Linked DNA regions of Homo sapiens: region 1 is linked to region 2. The links are contacts of gene promoters, found by promoter capture Hi-C in blood cells and fetal thymus (Javierre and others, 2016). All regions are on one chromosome and are shown on one strand. The core of a region is centred on a gene start or on the middle of the fragment in contact, and the rest is flanking DNA. Distances in the headings are between cores, read along the strand shown.

What was found. Contacts are between HindIII fragments. The CHiCAGO score rates a contact against its expected background, and 5 or more counts as called.
Region 1: a contact is called between the fragment with the promoter of ZNF529 here and the fragment with the promoter of ZFP30 in region 2, in 1 of 17 cell types (non-activated CD4 T cells). The highest score is 8.0, in non-activated CD4 T cells.

What each region holds. Positions count from the first base shown.
Region 1 is chr19:36,570,431-36,575,681 of GRCh38, forward strand. ZNF529 (zinc finger protein 529) reads right to left here and starts at 2,862. Exons shown (of 5, transcript NM_020951.5): 1 at 2,710-2,862; 2 at 1,903-1,962. The coding sequence starts at 1,916. ZNF529-AS1 (ZNF529 antisense RNA 1) reads left to right here and starts at 2,919. Exons shown (of 5, transcript NR_173348.1): 1 at 2,919-3,125; 2 at 4,391-4,470. RefSeq lists an enhancer at 2,919-3,008. The HindIII fragment of the contact is 11,229 bases long and covers 101-5,251 here.
Region 2 is chr19:37,653,862-37,658,859 of GRCh38, forward strand. It overlaps ZFP30 (ZFP30 zinc finger protein), which reads right to left and starts at 1,604. Exons shown (of 6, transcript NM_001320669.3): 1 at 1,559-1,604; 2 at 851-1,018. RefSeq lists a silencer at 1,560-1,749 and enhancers at 1,773-2,760, 2,160-2,209. The HindIII fragment of the contact is 13,390 bases long and covers 1-4,998 here.

The sequences.
Region 1 (5,251 bases), core at 1,612-4,111, 1.1 Mb before region 2:
ACCATGGCTTAGGAGAGCTTCCCTGGTTGGCCACGCTTCATGTTTGTATTCGCACATTGTTGCTGGGAGAATTAGGTGCTGCCTGTGCAACTGCACTGGAAGCTTGCACCTGGTTTCTCCCGGTATTTGCCCTATGCAACTTTTCCCTTTGCTGATTTTAATGTGTACCTTTTCATTGTAATGAAGAATAACTATGAGCATAACAGCTTTTCTGAGTTCTGTGAGTCCTTCTCGCAAATCATTGAACCTAAGACAGTCAAATTGCCTTAATAGAACATTTGCAAATCTGGCTTTTAAAAAATTCATTTCAAGTGCCCATCAAAATTAACTTTATATTTTCATTGCTCTTGATTTACAGAAAATGTATGGGGAATACTAAGAATCTTCACAAACCAGCTTTTTTTCTTCCCTTGCAGATAAGGACTTAAAGTGCCAGGCCTTTATTAAATTCTCTAGGTTTATGTCCATATTAATGTATCCAGGCCTCATAAAGACCCTAAAGCACTGATATAATTATTGTTTACATTCTACAACAAGAAACTGTAAAGCGGAAAAATGAGTAACTATTAACCCCTTTGAAATGCAGTGTGAACATATAACTGAATTTTAAATTTTTTTCACTTTTCCTAAGCTAATTAACACAGGATTACCTTTAATTTTAATTAACTTACATTTAAATACAAAAGCAATATAAATGTTTTTCTATTAAACACAACTTTATTGTTTTGGTAGGACTATAATTCACCCTAAACACTGAAAATTTAGCATCCAAATTGAGACATGCAATAACAATAAAACATATACCAGATTTTGAAAACTTGGTATAAAGATATGAGTGTAAAGTATTTCAGTGTATTCATATCATTACATGTTGAAATAATATTTTGGATATATTGGTTTAAATAAAATACATTACCAAAATTAACTTCAGCTGTTTCTTTTTCTTTTTAAAATGTGTTTAAAGCCGGGCGCAGTGGCTCACGCCTGTAATCCCAGCACTTTGGGAGGATGAGGTGGGTGGATCACCTGAGGTCAGGAGTTCGATACCAGCCCAGCCAACATGATGAAACCCCTTCTCTACTAAAAATTCAAAAATTAGCCGGGCATGGTGGCGGGCGCCTGTAATCCCAGCTACTTGGGAGGCTGAGGCAGGAGACTCACTTGAACCTGGGAGGCAGAGGTTGCAGTGAACTGAGATCGCACCATTGCGCTCCAGCCTGGGCAATAACAGTGAAACTCTGTCTCAAAAAAAAAAAAAAAAGTGTCTAATGGAAATTTTTAAATTACCTAAGTGGCTTTATATTATATTTGCATTAGACTGTGCTGCTTTAGACTCAGACACCACTGTATCAGGCTGCCTCTCACAATCTACACCAATGTCACACTGCCAAATCTCAAAGAAGATTTGGTTGTCACCACTTAAATCCCCTCATGAATGTTCTGGAAAAACTCCCTGCCCTTGTTGACATAGCCTCTCTGCATAAAACTCCTATCATATTCCCACTCCTAAATGTCTCCAAAGCCAACTTTGTCACTTACTGATTAATACCTACCATCTCCTATCTTGCTTTGTTTGCAAATCAAGTCTGTAAATAAGATCAAAGGTATCTAGTGTGCCATTCTACTTAATCACTCGTCTCCTCCTTAACAAATTACATTCTAAAAAAAAGTTTTAACTTCTCCTCCAGGAGTTGTATTTCTATACCATAAAAATCCTTTGGAAAAAAAGAAGCACATGGGAGAATTGAATGATTTACCTAATGCATATGTGAATATTCAATGAAAGGGAAATGGGCATTTGGAAAGGCAATGGAGGACAAGGGGACCCATCTCTACGGTCCTGTTGTTAATTGGGAAGAGAAAACCAAGGGACCAGGTAAATGAACAAAAAAAAAAACTAACCTTGAGTTGGCCATTAGTACCAATGCTGTCTTCCACTTCAGGGGGCCTTCACTTGCAGAACTACATAACCAAGAGGGAGAAAGGACTCATGACATCCTGGACTGGTTAAATAAGAACACAGTGTTCACCACCAGAAAAGCCCATCACACACAACAAACACACCCAGATCGAAGAGGGAAACTAGAATACTGTCGACTCCTCCCCACATCCGAGAAAAAGGTACGACCAATGCCTAGCAGTTTCTAGGGAACACAGCTCAGGAAATACTGTAGTTCTTTAATGTATAAATGGCCTCCAAACTCATGCAAGGGGAGTTATCCCAGGAATGAATACTACACCTATGCCCTCCCCTTCACGTCTTCCCAGGAAACTTCATTTATCTATCTTATCTATCTATCTATCTATCTATCTATTATCTATCATTTATCTATCTTCTATATATCATCTATGTAATCTATCTATATGCGTGTGTGTGTGTGTATAAGACCTCACGAAGAGATTCCATCACAGACATCACAGAGTCGGAAAAATGACGCTTTACCCAAAACAAACTCCTACAGGCTCACGGAAAAAAACGAACAAACAAACAAACAAAAAAAAACAAAAAAACACTTCTACCCCGTTCACACTTATAGTTGGTCACAACAGTGCTGTCACACGATCACGTCACCGTAGACCAGGGTCACACGATAGACCCCGCCCCTACTCACCGTCCTGAGTCCGATCAAACAGCACCCACGGCACACACTAGGGTCTCCGTCTCTCACACACACACACCACAATGACGTCGTAAACAATAGCACTAACCACCATCGTCCGCAGCTCCCGCGTACAGAGGCCTCAGGCTCCCGGCTCCACGTGGACCGACCTCGCCCGGCAGCGCGGGGCCACCTCACCGCGAGCTCCTCCCGCAGCCCGGCCCGGGTCACCTCGACTCGCCAGGCTTAACTCAATAACCACAACACCGGAAAAGGAAGCAAAGGTCGAAGTTCATCCGCGGCCCTGAGGCCTGTGGGAAACGTAGTCCAACAACGAAAGAGCCCTGAAGCTCAAGCGGAGCCCGCTGGCCGCAGGGGCCGCACCACGCCCCAGACCCTGGAGTTTCCGGGTGCGCAGACCCTTGCCATCAGCAGAGGCTGCCGCTGCGCGTCCCCTAGGCGCGGAAGAGGCGGCTGGTGGTCCCTGACGGCAAGGTGAAGTCGAGGCAGTAATCGGGAACCCAGGTTGGGAGGACAGAATGGGGAACAGGAAGCTGGGGCGAGGGTGGTCTTGGGGGAGGTGGGGGGCCGCGGAATTCTAGGTGGCCCCTGCCTCACCTCTGGAAAGAACCGGAAGCCCGGGCCGGGGAGGGTGAAGGGAGTCGCGGACCCGGCTGCTCAGCCGAGGAGGAAACCCGGACCCCAGGCTGAGGGAGGCCGAAGAAGGAACTGGAGGGCCGGGCTGGGAAGGCCTGAAGCGGGTACAGCCTTTAGGCTGGGGAGGGTCGAGGGGAGAACTCGGAGCCTGAGTCGGGCGAGGTTTTGCTCCACTCTGGCTTCTAAGTGTGGGGGCCTCAGGATGTGACCCGTGGTCGTAAACCTGAGGGTGACTTGGAGTTTTTGTCCGTTTTGCACCATGAGAAAGGCCCCAGATGGAATCTGGCAGGTAGCGGCGGTTCAGTGTGTGTGTGTCTGCCTTAGGGCGTGTTTTACACTGTTGACGAAAAGACTCAGACTCTAAAGTATTTGAAGAGACTTATTCTGAGCTAAATATGAGTGACCAATGGCCGGTGGCCCAGCCCTCAGGAGATCTTGAGAACCTGTGCCCAGGGTGGACGGGATATATGTGGTTTTATACCTTTTAGGGAAACATGAGACACCAATCAAATACATGTAAAATGTACATTGATTCCCTCCGGAAAGGCGGGACAGCTGGAAGGTGGCTGGCCTTCCAGGTCATAGGTAGATTCAAAGATTATTTGATTGGCAATGGGTTGAAAGAGTTATTGACGTAAGACTTAGGAATGTCTCCAGGTAGCACGCTTCACAGAGAATAGATTGTAAATGTTTCTTTTCAGACTTGGGGTCTTTTCTATCAGTAATTCCAAAATGGAGGAGGGTATAATGAAGCATGTCCGACCCGCCCACCCCCGCCTTTCCATCATGGCTTTACTAGTTTTTCAGGTTAGGAATGCCCTGGCCAAGAGGAGGGGTCCATTCAAGATGGTCTGGGTGTGCTTAGGATTTTATTTTTGGTTTACAACACCAGCACCACCGGAGTTTGCTGGTGTCCTTTCCAGTCAGTTTCAAAGCAGAGACAGCCATAGTTCTGATTTGTGTCACTGTAACTGTCAGTTCCGGAATTCCATATTTCTCCTTTAGTTTACCCTAATGTGTGTGAGATTTCATGTGTAGTTCATTTTTCTTTTTCTGAACAGCACTCCATTGTGCAAATATACCACAATTTGTGTAGTCATTTTTCTGTTGTTGAACATTTGGCATATTTACAGGTTTTATACATTACGAATAAAGCTGGCACGTTTCCATTTCTCCTGGGCAAATATTTAGAAGAAAAGTTGCTGGGTAATTGGTAAGTTTACATTTAACTTTCCAAGAAGCTGATAAGCCTTTTAGAATGATTAGTTGTGATTTGTGTGTGTGAGATTGTGTAACTGGAGTAAGTAGTTTCTGAGTTTGCTTTGCTATGTTTGTATGGAATTATAAGATGGGCTCAACAGGGTTGTGAATGTCATGTAGGATCCATAGGATTGTGGCTTTGTGGAGTAGGTAAGATCACAGGAAACTGAATGTGTCTGTGCTAATTGTTATTTATCATGGTTTTGTGTGTACATTCCATGATAACTGAAAATGGATCACTATGTAAGTGATGTTAATGACTGAAGAACTCTGTGTGTCTGGTGTATTTCATTTTGCTTGCAGAATTATGACAGTTTCTAATAACTAAAATATCACAAGCATTGGAAACTAGGAGGTAAAATTATAATTTCTAGATGACAGGGTTGCATTACCTGGAAACATCATACAAACTAAATCCAATATGTTGAAATGAGGACTCCATATGTAGCACAGAAGTAAAATACTTTCATCCCTACCACTTTGAATAGTTATATAGATTTGAGGTCCCCTCCCACCCATCCCCCCGCCTCCTGCTTGCCCCTGGATGAAGTTGAGGGTGATTTAATGCCCTCCTAAATCACTTTAAGCCAAGTAAAAGTACTTGAAATACTAAAAATCACAAAGTCAGCTTTGTAGTAATTAAAATAGTCATTTTCTAATTAAAATATTTACTGTAAAAATCAAATTTCAAACTTCATTTAAAAGAAAAATTTCTTTCAACTGTCTAGAGCCTA
Region 2 (4,998 bases), core at 354-2,853:
TCCAAGGACTTATGTTACCAATCCCTGTTCTGGTCCACTGCAGGGTCTGGCTCATTTTCCTGCTTGCAAGCATCCATCATAATTACCTTCACATTTGCATTGGTCTTGGAAATACACAAAGCTGATAGGAAATGACTGAGCATCATCATTTTAATACCAGTAGCTAGTATGAATTAAGGACTCACTATGTGCCAGGCACTCTCCTAAGAGCTTCACAAATATTAATTCATGTAATCTTCAAAACAACACCGTAAAGTATACACTATTACAATTCTGAGGAAATTGAAGCACAGATTGCTTAAACTCGTTCAGATTTAAGTGGCAGTCAGGATTCAATTCCACTTAATCTAGGCTCGAAATTCTTAACCACTACACTACACCTCCCTCAGTCGATCCAAGATATACCCAAAATAAACTCATGCTGCCAGACCTCAAACCACATCTGGCTGGTACCAAAAACTTCCACTCATGAATTTCCTGGAAAAAAAGAAATCTCCACTCCTACCCCAGAACCATTAAACATATCTAAACCCTAAAAAACAAATAAAAACAAAGTATGAACATTAATCTCCAGCACGGGTATTTCCATATCATCAAGATCCTTAGAAAAACAGCGCTCACAGAGTAATTGAATTTGCAGCCTACAGTTAACTAACCATGTGTCTAACTATAGAACAGCATGAAGTGGGCACTAACAACGGGAAATCTATTAATTAGGTCCCCTGCCGTTAACTAGGTAGGGAAATCCTAAGGCCCAAATCAATGAATAAATAGATCATTCCTAAGCAGGATTTTAAACGGAAGGAACTCGAATGCATTTCACAGAAACAAAGCAGCAGCACGAACTCACAGGGAACCGGCTTTTAGAAGAGCAGCAGCGATTCGTTTCTCCTTCTCAAGCGCCTTCTCTGGAAACTGGCAGGGCTGGGGAAGCAGGCAGAGTTCAGGACACCCCAGGCTTTTCTTGACTCGATTGGAACCCACCCTCCACGCTTCCCTGGCCCCAACTAACCGCCACCTGCATGCACAAATGGAAACGACAGGGCAGAGGGTCAGCAGTCACCCGCGTCTGGGTTCGCAGCTCCGGGTACGCTGTAGTTCCGCACCCGGTTGCCCACGCCCGGGACCACCCACTGTGTCTTTTCGGAACTGTCCAGCGTGTCCTCCTAGACCCCAGACACCCACCCCAAATCTAGGTCCCAGCGTTTTGCAGGGGACCTTCATCCTGGGGCGTTCACCTCTGACTTCCCTCTTGGGCCTTTTCGCTACGGCCGAGCCTAAGTGGCTGAAGCGCGGACGAGGATGCGCGGGGCCTCGGTCTCCAACTGCACCACAGGCCGCACCCACGAACCTGGTCCGGCACAGTTACTACCGCCCGGGCCTCCAGGCCTCAGGGCTGCAGAAGCTCAGTCCCGGGAAAAAAAGCACACCGGCCTGAGGCTCCACAGGAACCTTTTCTCCACCTTGGCCCGGCCTGCAAAACCTGGCCCACTCCGCGCTCTTTTCCCTCAGAAAAGCAGCGGCCACAGTGGCGCCCGGCTCCCAGCCCCAGCCTCACCCGACTCAGAGGATAGCCCAGCCCTGGGAGTCAGCGGCGCCAGAATACGGGAGAGCGCCTGTCTCCGTCGCGAATGCGCTAGCGCGCGGGGGGGCGGAGGCAAGTCCCGCAGCTGCTCCGGGCCGGGAGGGGCGCGTGGGGCCGGGTCTCGGCGGGGATAGTCGGGCCGGGGAGACGGAGCCAGAGGGGCCGCAGTGTCCCTCGCCTCAGGCCTCTACCTGTAATGGCCGCCCCGTGACTGACCAGTGCCATTAAAGATAATCCAGGCCTGCTCCCCTGTGGACACTGCGGTCCAAAATTTAAAAAAACAATATTCCGCCTTTTTATTTTTCATTTGGTTCTCGGCTCGGAGACAGGCGGAGGCTGCGAGCCCCGCCCCGCCCCCAGCGACGCCTCACCGGAACCTTTGGAAATCGGCTTCTGCCTCGAGTGCGCAAGCGCGCGGGGGGCGAACGCTGGGGCCCTTCAGGGAGCAAGGGAGAAGTGTGGGGCCGCACCTGCCGAGGGGTCGGGAGGTTTGGAGGAGGGTGGAGGTTGGCTACAGGATCCCGATGGGGATGGAGTGTTCAAATCTAGGCCTGTAGCCGTGACCCTGGCGTGAGTTGGATGGAGGAAACCCCAGTATCGCGAGCCTGGACCAAGGCGCGGCGCGTGCTGCCTGTGGTGTTTGCTGAGTGACGGCCGCCGCGCCCCCGCGTACCTGGACCGAGTGCCTGGCCGCTGGCGGAGTAGTGTTTCCGTGCACGGGGCTGCTGCGTGCGCGTGTGCCGTTCTCTAGCGGGGGATTAGGATGGTGCCGCAGAGAAGGCTGCGCGGTGGTGCCTGACTCTGACGCTGGCTGTAGCGGGTCTCTGGGGTCTTTGCGGTTTGTGTCTGCGTTTGTGACGTACCTGACATCGGATCTGTGACTGTGGCTCTGCCTCATCCAGCGTTATTTCCAGAATCCTTCTGATAGGGCAGCGCTTCTGGTTCTGGTTTTCCATGGAGACGGTTTGTGGGTCCCTATGAAACTGAGTGTTGGGATTTTGATTATCTGCATCTGGCCCTTGTGTGCCCTCAGGACTGTGGTGTTAGGCAAGTAAAATAATTGCAGGAAAAAAAATTGGAAAGGAATAAGGTTGCTATTACTTCCAAATGATGGAATTGTAGGACTGTGTCAGAAAATTGAATAGGACACCATGAAACGGGAGGGAGAGGCATTTTATTTTCTTCCATACCTGGTCTTGGAATATTCTAACAAATGAGATTTGTTTTTTCCCCTTTGTTCCTGGATGAACTCTTGGATAAATTCAATGTCTCCAAGCATTCTTGGATAGTAAGTTTCTTTGATCTTTAGTTGAAAGATCAGCCTCATTTTCGTAGCTAAAAATACCTTTAGTAATAAAAATGTTCATTGTAATACTTCATTTAAAATATTTAAAACTTTCTTCTTTCTCCTTGATCTCTTCCAGATATCTCAAGTTTTGGTTAAGTGAATATGTGGAGTATATGTACTAATTACGTCAATTATTTTCTCTTTAAAACCAAGTACATTTCTTACATGAGTTTGTTTATCAAGGATTTATTGGTTTTCTTTGTACTTGTTGCTATTTTTTAGAAATGTTCCAACAGATATGTTAAATGTTCATCGATTATTTTTTCAGTGGTTCAAACATCGGAGTAGAATCTCTCTTCCATTCTGTGGCTGCAATTGGACTGTACAGTTGTCCTAAAATTTACCGTCATTGTTTTCCTAAGTTTGATTCTTGTTTCCTAGAATTCAGCTAATTTTTGCTAAAGTTCTTTTCCAATAAGTTCCTTAAGATGCATGTATTAAAGATGTTTTTTAGTTCTTTCATGTTTGAAATTTTTTTTTTTTTTGAGACGGAGTCTCACTCTGTTGTCCAGGCTGGAGTGCAGTGGTGCAATCTTAGCTCACTACAACCTCTGCCTCCCCAGTTCAAGCGATTCTTCTGCCTCAGCCTCCCGAGTAGCTGGGATTAAAGACGTGCACCACCACGCCTGGCCATTTTTTTTTTTTTTTTTTTTTTTTTATAGTTTAAGTAGAGATGGGGTTTCACCATGTTGGCCAGGCTGATTTCGAACTCCAGACCTCGGGTGATTCGCCCACTTAGGCCTCCCAAAGTGCTGGGATTACAGGCGTGAGCTACCGCGCTGGGCCTGAAAATGTCTTTATTCTGCCTTCACACTTTGCCTAGATTCAGAATTTGGAGGCGTCACTTCACAGTGTTCTAGTAGCTAATGTTGTCAAGTCTAATACCAATTGTTTTCTGTTCCTTTTTAATTTCATGTCCCACTCCCACCAACGCCCAGATACCTATTGCCACCTGTAATCCACAATGCACTTACATTTCATAATTTATGCACTTGGCATGTATGTTTAAACATTTTTTTCTGCTAGTTATAGGGCAGCACTTTATAGGTCTGAACATTTTTCTTCCTCTTTTTCTTTTTTGACAGTCCTCTATCCTTCTGAATTTTTGTTCTCTTGTCCTGGAATTTGTATTTCATGGAAGGACTTTTCATGAGCTGTATGTTTTGTCTCCTATTTTTTCTCTTTTTCTCTTACTTTGGGAAATTTTGTTGACTTTACAGTACAATTGTATTTATTTTTAATTTGATAATCATTTCTAATTTCCAAGAGCTCCTTTATATTCTGTAATTTTTATTTCTTCATAGCCTTTCGTTTTTATTATGGATGCAATAAAACCTCTAATCTCTCAGAGGGCAATTAGTTTAAAGTTTTCTGGTGCTTTTTTTTTTAATCTATTTTTGTCTTTTATATCCAAATCAAATTCCCCCTTTACAAAAAAGTTTGAATTGTTCTCTTTTTATACTGGATACTTCCCTGAAATGTGTGGTAATCCTTGCCTCTAGTCATGGAGTGAATCTTCTCAACCTGACTTCAGAGCCAGCCGTTTCATTGGGAGATGTGAGCTGTTCTTTAGTTCCTCCTTTGAGGACAGTGAGTTAGTGATGTCTGAGACCTCAAAGACCTCTCAGAGGCCCCCAGTTTTGAGTGTAGTTTTTCATTTAGTTTGCCTATGACTCAGTTCTGTCTTTCTTTATGCAGGTATACATCCTCTCTGGGTCATTTTATCCACAGATCACCCCCCTACCCCAATTTAGTGTATTTGATCACATAAGAGAGGAAAAGTAAAAAAGGTGAACAGCCAGTTTGTGTTCAAACTTTCAACCAATCTCCTGTTTCCAGATCCACATCTCTCCAGGGTCATGCTCTTTGGTGCCTGAGCTTCCAGGGGTTTATGCATTGAATTGCCTCATTAATAGAAATCTGACTCCTAAGCCCTTTCATACCAGAATTCTTGGACAGTTCTCCTGTTTTTGTGTGTGCGTTTTTTTTTGTTGTTGTTGTTGTTTTGTTTTTGCAGTCTCCCTCCTCATTTTCTTTGGTTCTTACATGTTAATACTTTTTATAT